5 separate regions of the Homo sapiens genome follow, and all the other regions are linked to region 5. Evidence: promoter capture Hi-C in 16 types of primary human blood cells and fetal thymus (Javierre and others, 2016). All regions are on one chromosome and are shown on one strand. The core of a region is centred on a gene start or on the middle of the fragment in contact, and the rest is flanking DNA. Distances in the headings are between cores, read along the strand shown.

What was found. The method cuts DNA at HindIII sites, captures the fragments that hold promoters and counts their contacts. A CHiCAGO score of 5 or more calls a contact.
Region 1: a fragment that was not itself captured here is called in contact with the fragment with the promoter of GTF3C6 in region 5 in 6 of 17 cell types (erythroblasts, M1 macrophages, fetal thymus and 3 more); the score reaches 7.0 in erythroblasts.
Region 2: a fragment that was not itself captured here is called in contact with the fragment with the promoter of GTF3C6 in region 5 in 5 of 17 cell types (M2 macrophages, M1 macrophages, M0 macrophages and 2 more); the score reaches 14.3 in M2 macrophages.
Region 3: a fragment that was not itself captured here is called in contact with the fragment with the promoter of GTF3C6 in region 5 in 1 of 17 cell types (M2 macrophages); the score reaches 5.3 in M2 macrophages.
Region 4: a fragment that was not itself captured here is called in contact with the fragment with the promoter of GTF3C6 in region 5 in 1 of 17 cell types (M2 macrophages); the score reaches 5.8 in M2 macrophages.

Annotation. Positions count from the first base shown.
Region 1 is chr6:110,550,244-110,552,943 of GRCh38, reverse strand. It overlaps LOC105377939 (a long non-coding RNA gene), which reads right to left. Exons shown (of 3, transcript XR_942862.3): 2 at 2,232-2,628. Among named protein-coding and RNA genes, the nearest start is that of SLC22A16, 75 kb to the right of the region's middle. The HindIII fragment of the contact is 1,109 bases long and covers 763-1,871 here.
Region 2 is chr6:110,470,392-110,473,091 of GRCh38, reverse strand. The region is part of intron 1 of SLC22A16 (solute carrier family 22 member 16); the gene reads left to right. Among named protein-coding and RNA genes, the nearest start is that of SLC22A16, 4.9 kb to the left of the region's middle. The HindIII fragment of the contact is 1,639 bases long and covers 631-2,269 here.
Region 3 is chr6:110,582,399-110,585,098 of GRCh38, reverse strand. The region is part of intron 1 of LOC105377941 (a long non-coding RNA gene); the gene reads right to left. Among named protein-coding and RNA genes, the nearest start is that of SLC22A16, 110 kb to the right of the region's middle. The HindIII fragment of the contact is 4,551 bases long and covers 1-2,700 here.
Region 4 is chr6:111,228,029-111,230,728 of GRCh38, reverse strand. It overlaps SLC16A10 (solute carrier family 16 member 10), which reads right to left. Exons shown (of 6, transcript NM_018593.5): 6 at 1-2,700. The region is part of intron 2 of SLC60A2-DT (SLC60A2 divergent transcript); the gene reads left to right. Among named protein-coding and RNA genes, the nearest start is that of SLC60A2-DT, 30 kb to the left of the region's middle. The HindIII fragment of the contact is 2,317 bases long and covers 234-2,550 here.
Region 5 is chr6:110,957,352-110,960,051 of GRCh38, reverse strand. GTF3C6 (general transcription factor IIIC subunit 6) reads right to left here and starts at 1,346. Exons shown (of 6, transcript NM_138408.4): 1 at 1,226-1,346; 2 at 800-880. The coding sequence starts at 1,282. RefSeq lists an enhancer at 1,024-1,473. The HindIII fragment of the contact is 8,604 bases long and covers 1-2,700 here.

The DNA of each region.
Region 1 (2,700 bases), core at 68-2,567, 410 kb after region 5:
TTCAAGTAAATTAACTGTGTTCTAGAACAACACTCAAAAGTTTTTTTGTGTGTTTGTTTGTTTTTTAAAGAATATCCAGGCCAGGCATGGTGGCTCACACCTATAATCCCAGCACTTTGGGAGACCGAGGAAGGTGGATCACTTGAGGTTAGGATTTTGAGACCAGACTGGCCTCAAACATGGTGAAACTCTGTGTCTTCTAAAAATACAAAAATTAGCCAGGTGTGGTGGGGGAGGTGCTGTAGTCCCAGTTACTCAGGAGGCTGAGGCAGGAGAATCGTTTGAACCTGGGAGGAAGAGGTTATACTGAGCTGAGATTACGCCACTGAACTCCAGCCTGGGAGACAAAGTGAGACTCCGTCTCAAAAAAATAAAAAGAAAAAGAATATCCAGCACTCAGCAAGATAAAATTCAAGCAAGAGAAACATGAAGGAAATTATAACAAGACACATCATAATCAAATTGCTCAATACCAGTGATAAAGAGAAAATCTTAAAATTAACAACAGGAAAAAAATTATGTTAGAAACAGGAGAACAAAGATAAGAATGGCAGCAGAGTTCATGTCAGAAGCAAGCAAGTGAGAAGACAGAGGAACAATAATCTTTAAAGTAATCAGAGAAAAATATTGTCAACCTAGAATTCTAGGTTTTTGGGTGTTTTTTTTTTTTTGTCTTTCACATGAAATGGCCACTAATTCTATACCCAGCAAAAATGTCTTTCAAAAACAAATGCAAAATACTTTTTCAAACATACAAAAGCTTAAAAAATGATCCTCTGAGGACCTATACTATAAGAAATGTTAAGGGATGTCCTTCAAGCAGAAGGACAATGATACCAGATAAAATTCTGGCTCTACAAAAAGAATGAAGAGTTCTGGAAGTGGAACTTCAACTACTCTAAACATGCAACAAGCTATGAATGGGGAGTCTTTCTGTGGAGGCTTCCAGGACCCAAAAGTGAGGACAGAGAAGTACTCTTTGCCTGAGCTGACACCCACCAGAGCTGAGAACCAAGGATTCCTAAGAGGTGACATATGTGGCTGTGTTACCGCCAACTCCACCTTCTACCCAGTAAGACTGGGAAGGAGGGAGAGAGAGAAATAAGTCTAAGGGTCACTGGAGCACAGGACGTGTGAGGAGAGGGGACTTCCTGCCCTTCCTGTGGTTATGGGAAATGGGGTGGCTGTGCTTTCCTCCCTAGTAAGGTTCTAATAAAATGATTCCACAAATATTGGAATGTAAAGTAGCTCCCCTGTTGGACATTTGATTAGGAAAAGGATTTGCTGGCTTATTCATACATCATTAGGGATAGAGGAGGGTCTTGGAGAAAGAAGAAAGGGCACAAAGAAGAGCTGCAGGGGCAGTCTGAACTCACCCAGTTGGTCAGGGCCAGAAAACGCATTTCCTGCAGTTCAAGTGGATGCTACTTAGAAGGCAGCTGGATTTGTTCCATCCCTACCCCAACAGGGTTCTCTCTCCTATTTACCGGGGAGCTCAAAGAGTCCGTAGAGTACATATCCAGTCATGGGAGTTGAGGGGCATGGAGGTGGTTGAGCCTGGATTTACCATATCCGTGCCCTGCAAGTCTCTCTAAAAGAACCCAGATGTGTCTTCCAGAGAAGGCTAGCACGTCGATGCCTGCCTCACAGCCAGTCCCAGTGGGACACCGCTAGAGAGAAGGCTACCACTAGAGAGAAGGCTACCACTAGAGAGAAGGCTACCGCTGCCCTGTTAGTTTACGACCCTCTGCCCTTTCTCTGTCCTACCTCTCAGCCCAGCGCACTAGAGGAACTATTTCCCAAAGCGGAAAGCGAGAGTGGAGGAGTGTCCCAGAAATAGACCTCCCTCATTCAGGGTCCAGGTCCAAGCTTGCACTGGACCGGGAGAGGGCAGTGGCGCTGGGAGATGAGGTGAGAGTAGAATCGTTTGGAATTAATGTTTTAAAGTGGACTGAGGGTTAATACCTGAAAACAGTGGTAAAATTTTGGACCCGCCCAAGATGTAATTAACAGATCTGCTACCCTCTGGATAAGGTTGAGCACATTTGAAAGGGCTTCAGAAAATGAAAAAGCCTTTTCTGTCTTTAAGAAAACAAACAAACAAAAAAAAACAAAACAAAAGAACAAAAAACCTGTCTTCCCCCAACAGGCACAATTACATTTGTAAAGATGGTTCCCAGCAGATGGTGAGGTGCTAATGAGTCCCAGGAGGGGCTCAGGAGAAAACTCACCTTCACCACCTTGCTCCTGGTGACTCCCAGCACACCTGGTCCAGCCTTTCCTCTGCAGCTGTTTTTTAGTGCATGGCCTGTCCTCCTGGAAGGAAAACTGGAGAGCGTGACCTGATCCAGGGAGCAAAGGCTTCATGTGCCCTGTGGCCTTTTTCAGCATGGTTAGCGGGGTGGGACTCTGGGCCCACTCTCAGGTTTGGGGCCATCACTAGGTCCTGGCAGCTGCAGTCCAGGCTGGCCCCACAGGAGGCCACAGGCGGTGGCTCCACCTGAGGAGAAGGTGGCATGTGGGTACCCCACCTGGCTCTCCCGGGAAGGGCCCTTGGCAACATCCGCAGCAGCTTGGCTCCACCCCAGTTGCAGTCTTGACATTTGGTTATTTTCTATTCTTTTTACTCTGCAAATAATACATGTTCGTTATACAATCAGGTAGAATGTACAAATAAGCAAATAAATAAACAAATACTTC
Region 2 (2,700 bases), core at 201-2,700, 490 kb after region 5:
AAAGCCCATAGTTTAGATGAGGAAACTGAGGCACAGAAAGGCTAAGGATCTTGCTCATGGTCCCTGGTGGTAAGTAACAGGGCCAAGATCAAACCTTGGCAGTCTGGCTCCAGAGTCCATGCTCTTAGCCATGATGGACTCCACCAGTTATGCTTTTATATGGAATGGTATAATCTAGGACTGAAAGCAGTTTTCTTCATCCGTCACTCAGATTGCATGGGTCCATTCCCTGGGGCTTCTGGCCGCCCTTGCTTTTCCTCGCCTCTGGGTTTTCTGCCGATTGTGTTTGTGTGATTATTTTTCCATTAGAGTGTCATATCTATAAGCCTGTTGTCCTGGTGGACCCCTAGGTTGGGTACATGCATGACACCTCTGAGGGCCAAGAATCTTTGTAAAAGAGAGAGTGATGTGTTAGAATGCTAGACGCCTAAGGAAATGGGGCTTGGTTTTTTTTCAAGAGGTTATTCTTGCAAAAGGGAAAGGGAAATTTGAATTGAAGGAGTGCTTAGGACCTTTCTAGCACATGGAAAGTGTGTTTATGTGAACTAGCATGGCTTGATTGGGGGCCACTTAGTGGTTTATTATTTTGGGGGTATAAAATATGAGAGTGAGAGAGGCAGGAGGTAAGCTTACAGTCATCTCCATGAGTGTTTTTGCAAAGTTTGGGTATCAGAAGTTTGGGTTTTGCAGTGCAGAGGGTGGATTGGAGGGGCAGCGAGTGGGGCAAGGGGGCCAGTGAAGACCTAGATAAGAGCCCAGGTGAGAGAGAAAGAGGGTCTGGAGAGTGGGAGTGTGGGCAGGGAGAACCAGACAGTTTTAGCAGGTGGAGTTGATGGGAGCTCTTGGCCCTAAGGCATGAAGGAGAAGTGAATGGGACCACATGCCCCTCCTAGCCCACCCCATGTCCCATGCCCTGGATTTCTAGTTTGTGTGGGTGATGGTAGCCTAAACTCAGAAAGTTACCCTCCAGGCGGGGCAGGCCTAGATATCGAGCTCAGTTTGAGATTGGTTTACCTTGAGTTCCTTGTGGGAATTCCAGGTGGAGACATCAAGTGGGAAGTTGGGTAGATAATCTGTTGCTCAGGGAAAATGCCCCCTTGTCAATATGGATCAGGTGGCCACCCAGGGCTGCAGTCCAGCTGGACCAGTGCCTTGTGGACAGATTAGGCATGCCTGGCACCTGTTCCAGCTGTGCCTCAGCAGGGGTGTTGCTGAATAGTTTTCCCTCTCCCTGGGCGCTGTAGATAGAAAACTTTTAAATTGATATATTACATATATGCAGAAAAGTGTCCACCATAATCTACAGCCTGATGAGTTGTCATACAGTGAACACACCTGTGTTACCCCCACCCAAATCATCTCCTCTTATGCCTTCTCCCAAGCCCTACTCCGTCCCTGTCCCCCAAGCTCACTACTGTCCTTACATCAACGATACTAAATGTTACATAAGTGGGGTAAAAGGCACTTGCCCTTTGGCTTCTTTTGTTCCACACTGTGTTTGTGAGATCCACCCATATTGTGTGTCACAGAGGTTAGTCGATTTTCACAGCTACATAGTATTTAATGGCACAAATATTTCACGGTTCATTCATTTACTGTCAACAGACGTTTAGACTGTGTCCAGGTTGGGCTTATATGAGTTGCCTTTCTTGCATTTGTCTTTTAGGGTAGGGTTATATTTTGCTTAACGACAGAGATACTTCTGAGAAGTTCATCGTTAGGTGATTTTGTTGTTCTGCAAACATCACAGATTTTATTTACACAAGCCTAGATGGTACAGCCTGCTACACATTTAGGCTCTATGGTATAGCCCACTGCTCCTAGACTACAAACCTGCACAGCATGTTATTGTACTGAATACTGTAGGCAATTGTAACACAATGGGAAGTATTTGTGTACCTAAACATGGAAAGGGTGTGGTAAAAATATGATATTAATATTATAATCTTATGGGACCACTGTTGTATATGTGGTTCATCATTGACCGAAACGTCGTTTTGTGGCATGTGGCTCTACCTGTGTATGCATTTCGCTGGGTAGATACCTAGGAGATGCTGTCACAGGCGGTGCATGTGGTCCCCTGCCAGAGAGTTTTGCAAAATGGTTATAACAAATGTCACCCTCACAAGCTGTTTATTGGTTTTTCAGTTGCTCCACAACAATTGTCCAGTATTTTGAATGTCAAACCTTGTACCAGTACATAGTTTAACCAGAAAACTAGATATCCTGGGGCAATGTTTTCATCCGTATCAGCATCTCCTAAGAAGCTTCTTAAGCTTGTAGGGGCCTTGACCCCACCTTAGACCTCCTGAATCACGATTGCTAAGAGGGGGACAGAAAAGACAAATCCTAGCTTCAGAGGCCTGCCAGGGTGGGTGCTGTGTTGGTGTATGTGTGTGTGTGCACAAGAGAAAAAGACACAAAGAGAGAAGGAGAGGGGAAGAGAGAGAGAGAATAGTTCTGGTGATGTGGTGATGACTGTGGGGGTCACTGGCTGAGGAAGAAAAAAACTGAGGCCAGGAAGGTAGAAACTAACTGAAGAAGCTGGTAGGATCTGAAGACTGGACGCCTGAATGGTGCTGGAAATGGGGTCAGTGGGAAGGATGGGGGAAGTAAGAGGGTGGGAGGTCATGCTCAGAACCTGAGCTTTTCAGTGGTGGAGCTGTTCCAGGTAGAGACTAGTTAGGGAACAAACCCAAA
Region 3 (2,700 bases), core at 118-2,617, 370 kb after region 5:
GTTTTCTGTCCTTGTGATAGTTTGCTGACAATGATGGTTTCCAGCTTCATCCATGTCCCTGCAAAGGACATGAACTCATCCTTTTTTATGGCTACATAGTATTTCATGGTGTATATGTGCCACATTTTCTTAATCCAGTCTATCATTGATGGACATTTGGGTTGGTTCCAAGTTTTTGCTATTGTGAACAGTACCGCAATAAACATGCATGTGCATGTGTCTTTATAGTAGCATGATTTATAATCCTTTGGGTATATACTCAGTAATGGGATGGCTGGGTCAAATGGTATTTCTAGTTCTAGATCTTTGAGGAATTGCCACACTGTCTTCCACAATGGTTGAACTAGTTTACACTCAGTGGGAGGATTTCTTGAGCCCAGGAGTTCAAGACCAGCCTGGGCAACATAGTGAGACCCTGTCTCTACAAAAAACAAACAAATCAGCTGGGTATCATGTTACATGCCTGTAGTCCCATCTACCTGGGGCTGAGGTAAGAGGATCACTTGAGCTTGGGAGGTCAACGCTGCAGGAGGCCATGATGATGGCACTGTACTCTGTCCTGGGCGACAGAGCACAACCCTTTCTCACTAACAGTTTCTGAATTATGGAGAGATCAAGTAGGGAGAAAAAAGGGATTGTTTCAATTATGTTACAAAGGTATAATTTACCAAATTCTTGTAAACTATAGATAGATTTTAAAAATCCCTTAAATCTGAAATACAAATATGCAAAAGATAATTTTAAAAAATTACTGCTGGATGTGGTGGCATATGCCTGTAGTCCCAGCTACTCAGGAGGCTGAGATGGAAAGACTGCTTGAGCCGAGGAGTTTGAGTCGAGCCAGCTTGGGCAACATGTCTCTAAAACAAAAACAAAACAAAACAAAAACTGAATTATTTCTCTCTCTCTCTCTTTTTGAGACAGTCTTGCCCTGTCACCCAGGCTGGAGTGCAGTGGCACAATCGTGGCTCACTGCAACCTCCGCCTTCAGGATTTAAGTGGTTCTTATGCCTCAGCCTCCTGAGTAACTGGGATTACAGGCATGTACTAGCATTCCCAGCTAATTTTTTGTATTTTTAGTAGAGACAGGGTTTTGCTGTGTTGGCCAGGCTGGTCTTGAACTCCTCGGCTCAAGTGATCTGCCTGCCTCAGCCTCCCAAAATGCTGGGATTACAGGCATGAGTCACTGCACCCAGCCTGATTCTTTTTCATCAGTTCATTTAGTTCCACATAATTAATTCTCATTTTGCTTGATGTTGGGCTAGCAACTTATGAACCAATTTGTTTCTTCATAAGAGTTCTGGAAGTTCTTTTTTTTTTTTTTTTTTTTTTTTTTTGAGACAGAGTCTCACACTGTTGCCCAGGCTGGAGTGCAGTGGTGCAATCTTGGCTCACTGCAACCTCCGCCTCCCGGGTTCAAGCGATTCTCCTGCCTCAGCCTCCCAAGTAGCTGGGATTACAGGCGCCCACCACCACGCCCAGCTAATTTTTTTTTTTGTATTTTTAGTGGAGACAGGGTTTCACCATGTTGGCCAGGCTGATCTCGAACTCCTGACCTTGTGATTCACCTGCCTCGGCCTCCCAGAGTGCTGGGATGACAGGTATGAGCCACCACACCCGGCCACTAGAGTTCTGGAAGTTCTTACTCAGTCCAATAGTATATTCCTAGGAAATTTATGGAAAGAACTCTGACAAGTACAGGTTTCCGGTAACATAGGAATATACTATTGGACTGTGTAAGAACTTAGAGTTCTGGAAGTTCTTATCCTTAGAGATACACTATTTTAGGATTATAGCTGCTTGCAAAACCTTTCAGGAGAGCATCAGAGTGAAACAATTTACTGTCTATGGATGACAAGACTTAAAATGGTCATGGTTGCGGTGGCTCACACCTGTAATCCCAGCACTCTGGGGGCCGAGGCGGGCAGATCACGAGGTCAGGAGATTGAGACCATCCTGGCTAACATGGTGAAACCCCGTCTCTACTAAAAATACAGAAAATTAGCCGAGTGTGGTGGCGGGCGCCTGTAGTCCCAGCTACTGCAGTGAGCTGAGATGGCGCCACTGCACTCCAGCCTGGGCGAGAGAGTGAGATTCCATCTGAAAAAAAAAAAAAAAAAAGGTCATGGTTAAAGATCTAATGAGAGTTTATTATGATAATGACACAACTGACAGGTAAAATCATTATTTCTGTGACATACAACATTTTAACATAATAACCAGAATTATGACTGATAACATTATGCCAGGACATATCAGACTTCTCGGAATTTCACATAATTTCTGGAACACGTAAACACTCAATCATGATTGCTTATTTGACAATGTTTATTCTGCAAATTTAATGTATCAATTAAGCCTAATTAGCTTAACATTTCTCTTTTATAAGAAGACCTTCCAGGGCCCCTGGGAGGTTCCAAAGTCAATGTGGGGTAAAAAAGGCTTAATTTTAAGAATTTGATTTTGGAAAGTTTGTCAAAAATACCAAAATGTTTGTCAATATTAATAGCAATGTTAAAGGTTTGATTTTTATCAATATCAAAGGCTTGGTTTGGAAAGTTTGTCAAAAATATCAAAACACTTCATTAACTAGGATCACAGATCATTATGGGACAGTACCAGAATGACAAAGGATTTTAAAGACAAATACAGAAAAGTTACACAGTTGAAAAAAAAAAATTTAACATTGAGAATGCTCTG
Region 4 (2,700 bases), core at 143-2,642, 270 kb before region 5:
ACTTAAAATATCCACACTCTCTTTCAGTAATAACTACAGGGTTCAATTTGTTGTAGCTATAACTTTAAGGCTAAAATAAACTGGTGGAAGAACAAAAGCAAAATGCAACTTTTATCAAGCATTGTGCAATGCCTCTACAATCTTACACATCTCAAACCACATTAAGTTACATCAGAAGTTATTATTAGAGTGATGTTTAATCTCACCCTAATGTAACTTCTGATTAGCAAGCTTCCATTCTCTCTGCCAAATATAACTCATGTTAACGTAGAAAAGTGTTATCATTAGTTACCAGAGCAAATCCAGTGTACTGGATTGTGAATGCATAGTCTTTCTAATTAGGAAAATGAGAGTGTGTATTGTCTTCTTAATTTACATTTATAAAATCCTCATAAAATACAGTTAAGTCAGGGTCTTTTAAAAGAGAAGAATTCAACTGAAACCTGTCATTCTCTAGCCGGGCATGGTGGCTCATGCCTGTAATTCCAGCACTTGGGGAGGCTGAGGCAGGTGGATCACTTAAGGCCAGTCTGGCCAACATGGTGAAACTCCATCTCTACCAAAAATACAAAAATTAGCCGGTGTGGTAGTGGGCACCTGTAGTCCCAGCTACTCAGAAGACTGAGGCACGAGAATCACTTGAGCCCGGGAGGCGGAGGTTGCAGTGAGCTGAGATCGCGCCACTATATGGAGCCTGGCAATAGAGCAAGACTCCATCTCAAAAAAAAAAAAAAAAAAGAAACAAAGAAAGAAAAAGAAACCTGTCATTCTCAATTCATCTGAATCCTACCTACAGAACATTAAAGAGACCCGTATGTCTCGAACTCCTGGCCTCAAGCAATCCGCCTGCCTTGGCCTCCCAAAGTGCTGGGATTACAGGTGTGAGCCACGGCGCCTGGCCAAGGAGACCCATATGTTATTTTACTTAGGTGTTACACAATCAGACCAACGATGGTGCTGAGAGCCCTTGATAAATCATAGACCTGAGATTTGCTGACAGTGACCCAGCCGCAGTACTTATTGTTTATGTTAAATCTGAAAGACAAACAATGATACTTTCAGTGATAAATTTCAAATAATTATAAAAATATAACTGTGCAAATAACTCATTATCCATGTTTTAAGATTGATGACTCTCAAAACTCTGATTTTAGCCTGAAAGTTGCGAAATAGTTTCAAATGTCCAAATGTCTACATAAGCCAGCTCAATAGGAAGCTATTATATATAACTTTTTCACATTGCCTCAAAGTTACAGAATATATTTAAATCCCTCACTTTGTGCTAGAAACATTGACAAGGGACTTTTTCTTTAAAATTATTACCTTGGGAGGTTGTGTTCATTAGAACATTCTCATTTGGTGATCATTTTCTTGTGAGTTTCGTAATTTAAAGTCTTATATGTTAACAAAAATTGCATACCTCTAACTAGATACTGGAACTCAATAATCACTGTATAGGTGAGCTTTTTTCCTCAGTCATGTATATAACATGCAACATGCATAACGTTGCTGGCTGTATACATTTTCTATTGTGTTGTATATTAATATTTTTAAAAGAAAAATAATTTTGAAAGGAACATGAAGTATAGCACCAATCTTGATCTAATAATCTTTGGTAGAAAAAAAAGAGGCACCAACTATACAGTCTGTTCATAGTCCAGGGTCAAAATGCAGCACTATTTTTTTTTTTTTTTTTTTTGAGACAGAGTTTTGCTCTTGTTGCCCAGGCTGGAGTGCTATGGTGCAATCTTGGCTCACTGCAACCTCCACCTCCTGGGTTCAAGCAATTCTCCTGCCTCAGCCTCCCGAGTAGCTGGGATTACAGCATGGAGCCACCACGCCCGGCTAATTTTGTATTTTTGGTAGAGATGGGGTTTCTCCATGTTGGTCAGGCTGGTCTCCAACATCTGACCTCAGGTGATTCGCCTGTCTCGGCCTCCCAAAGTGCTGGGATTACAGGCATGAGTCACCGTGCCCGGCCCAGCACTATTAATAACAAACCCTCCATTCCTGAAATAACATTTCAATATAGACTGAATTATGAAAGATACTTTGACTCATTAGGGAAGATCACAGTAGAAAGGTTTTGTGTTTACACATTTAAAATATTTAACAAACTGACTCTTCTAATGACGGATACTGAAAAATATCTAGTAAAGAATAAAAGTCATACATCACAGGCTCCAAAATAGTATTACCAATCTAATTTGAGTTCTAAGTGTTATTTTATATTGGTAGTTCCTATCGCATACATGTTTAGGGACATTGAACTCCAAAATACTCTTTTTATAGCACTCATATTGAAAGGCAAAGCAACTTCTTTGGGTAGACTGGGTTAACTCCTACACTATTGCCACACTCAAGAACAGCATTTTAAAAAACTCCAGTGAGTCAAAAATTCATTGTCCCAGTCCTTGTTCTACTAGGAAGGAGTGTCTCTTACAGGAGTTTAATGTGTAAGTTGTCAGGTTTGGGCACAGCTGTACAATCTGTCATCACTGATCATCTACCCTCTTGCCAATGAAAACAAAACTTTTTCATAATCAAGCTTCCAGTGTAACTTGAAAAGCCACTGGCGAAGCATTCTAAGTGTTCATTAGAATCTGAGTGTGTCTAATTTAGAATCTAAGTGTATCTAGATTCTGAATTTCTTCAGGTTTTTCTTTGTCAGATCCACAGGCCATATTAGTTGTTATTCCT
Region 5 (2,700 bases), core at 97-2,596:
TCCTCCCACCTCAGCCTCCTGAGCAGCAGGGACCACAGGCGCATGCCACCATCCCCAGCTAATTTATTATTATTATTATTTTTTTTTTTTATTGAGATGGAGTTTTGCCCTTTGTTGCCCAGGCTGGAGTACAGTGGCGCGATCTCGGCTCACTGCAACCTCTGCCTCCAGGGATCACGCGATTCTCCTGTCTCGGCCTCCCGAGTAGCTGGGATTACAGGCGCCCACCACCATGCCTGGCTAATTTTTGTATTTCAGTAGAGACGGGGTTACACCATGTTGGCCAGGCTGGTCTCGAACTCCTGGGCTCGTGATCTACCCGCCTCGGCCTCCCAGTATTGGGATTACAGGCGTGAGCCACCGCGCCTGGCCATTTTTTTTTATTATTATTTTAGAGAAGGGGTCTCGTTATGTTGCCTAGGATGGTCTCCAATTCCTGGGCTCAAGTGATCCTCCCACCTCTGCCTCCCAAAGTGCTGAGAATACAGGAATATATGTACGGTTCCATATCACAATGTTACTTCCTCCAAATCTGTAACTTTCTCTTCAGCCACACATTCAAACAGGCAAGCAAAGTTAGCCATTTTCTCCTATCTGCTCCCATAGTCCCCGCTGTACTTCTACATTATACTTAATTACATATTAATTAATTATACTTAGTATACTTCTTATCCTTAGAGTTCACTACTTTGTAAGGTGAAATAAATATATCAATACTTGCGGATAGGTATTTCACCATTGATTCTTGTTTTACATTTAAGACACTCTAGAACAATCCCCCCAAGTCTAGAAAACTCACCAAAACCTTGCATTTATTTTCACATTTTGAGAGGAAGTCTGAATCAATAATTCCTGATAATTCCACCAGAACCAACTGCTCCTGGTGAAAGAAAGAGGGGTTAACATGCTAGCACGCGAGCGGCCAAGAGGGAGCAATTAGCAAAAGAAGCCAAATTTCCCACATTTGTGAAAACCGGACCCTGTTTTCAGCAAGAGGAAACTACGCTACCTAAGGTAACTTCCCGGTACTTCCCATCCCAAGTACGGGGTGACGATTAGGGCTAAGGTCCCAAGCTGCCCGGCTCCTCGCGCCCAGGAGCAAGAAGCCGGTGAGGAGCAGTGGGGCCTCCCTCCGGCCCGCAGCTCCCCAACTCCCTTCCCCACACACAGCCAGCACAGGCATCACCGCCACTGCGGTGCAGGCTTTTGGCGTAGCGCTTACTACCTCCTCTTCCTCGTCTTCTCCGTCCTCTGGACTCCGCTCGTCCGCCGCCGCCGCCATGGTCCCGCGGCGCCTCGCCTTCTAGTCACTGGCCACGCCCGCCCGGAGCCGCCATCTTGAGTACGGGCTTCAGCTCCGAGGCGAAGCAGCTTATTGGGTTCCTGCCGCTCCGCTCCTCGCCGCGCAAATTGCTTCTGCCAGAACTCGAGATGTCGGCTTCCGGCGGGCGGGTGGCTACGGGCGCCGAGAGCGCCGGTACCCACGTGGAGACTCGCCACGGGCCTCCTCGTTTCTCGGTGCCTCAGAGCAGGGGCTGGGGGTGGGCTGCCGTAGGCAGCGGAGCCCGCTCGGTCACGCAAGAGTCGCCGGGCTCTCGGCCCCGCTGGCGGGGAGGACTGGCAAGGCAGAAGGGATAAAGGCGAAAACAAGGAAACCATGGTTTCAGGCGGATCATGGACAGAAAGGCCTTGTGTTTGACCCGAGCACATTTCTTGGAAAGAAATTCTTAATATTGTGTGAGCGCTCATCCTCAATTCAACGTACCCCAAGCCAAGTTAAAGGCACATTCAGTTTAATACTAATGAGCGCCTACACAGTAAAAAGCACTGCACCAGGAGCTATGAAAAATAGAAAGTGGGCTTAAGTTTCAGGCCTGCAGGAGCATAAGATCTGTGAGAGGTACATAAATGGATCCAAGCAAGTGCTGTAAGAGATACACATTGTTATAGGAACACAGAGACCTGGGCAAGAGAAGTTTGAACAGAATTTTCAGAAGTATCCCATAGATGTTTGTGATTGTGAAAGAAACGGTCTTCGTACTTGCGATAGCGTGATCTAGTGGTTAAGATCGTGAGTTTTGGATTTTTATTTATTTATTTATTTGGAGATGGAGTTTTGCTCTTGTTACCCAGGCTGGAGTGCAATGGTGCAATCTCGGCTCACTGCAGCCTCCACCTCCCGGGTTCAAGCGATTCTCCTGCCTCAGCCTCCCGAGTAGCTGGGATTATAGGCATGCGCCACCACGCCCGGCGAATTCTGTTATTTTTAGTAGAGACGGGGTTTCTCCATGTTGGTCAGGCTGGTCTCGAACTCCCGACCTCAGGCGATCCCCCTGCCTGGGCCTCCCAAAATGCTGGGATTACAGGTGTGAGCCACCGTCCCCAGCCTGAGCTTTGGATTTTAATACCAGTCAAGTTCTGCTGCATTATTAACAGCAAGGCTTTGGGCAGATTGGTGGTTGTGAGGATTAAATGAGACAATACATATAAAATAAATTTAGCCCAGTATTCAGCACATAGTAAGCATTTAAAGTGCATTTAATCTATTATTAGTAGTAATATATAAATTTTTTAGTATGATGCTCTTTCTCTCTTTCTTTTATTCATTGTTTGTTTCTTTCTTTCTCTCTTTCTTTCCTTTCTTTTTTGTGACAGGGTCTGGCTCTGTCGCCCAGCCTGGAGTGCAGTGGCGCCATCGTA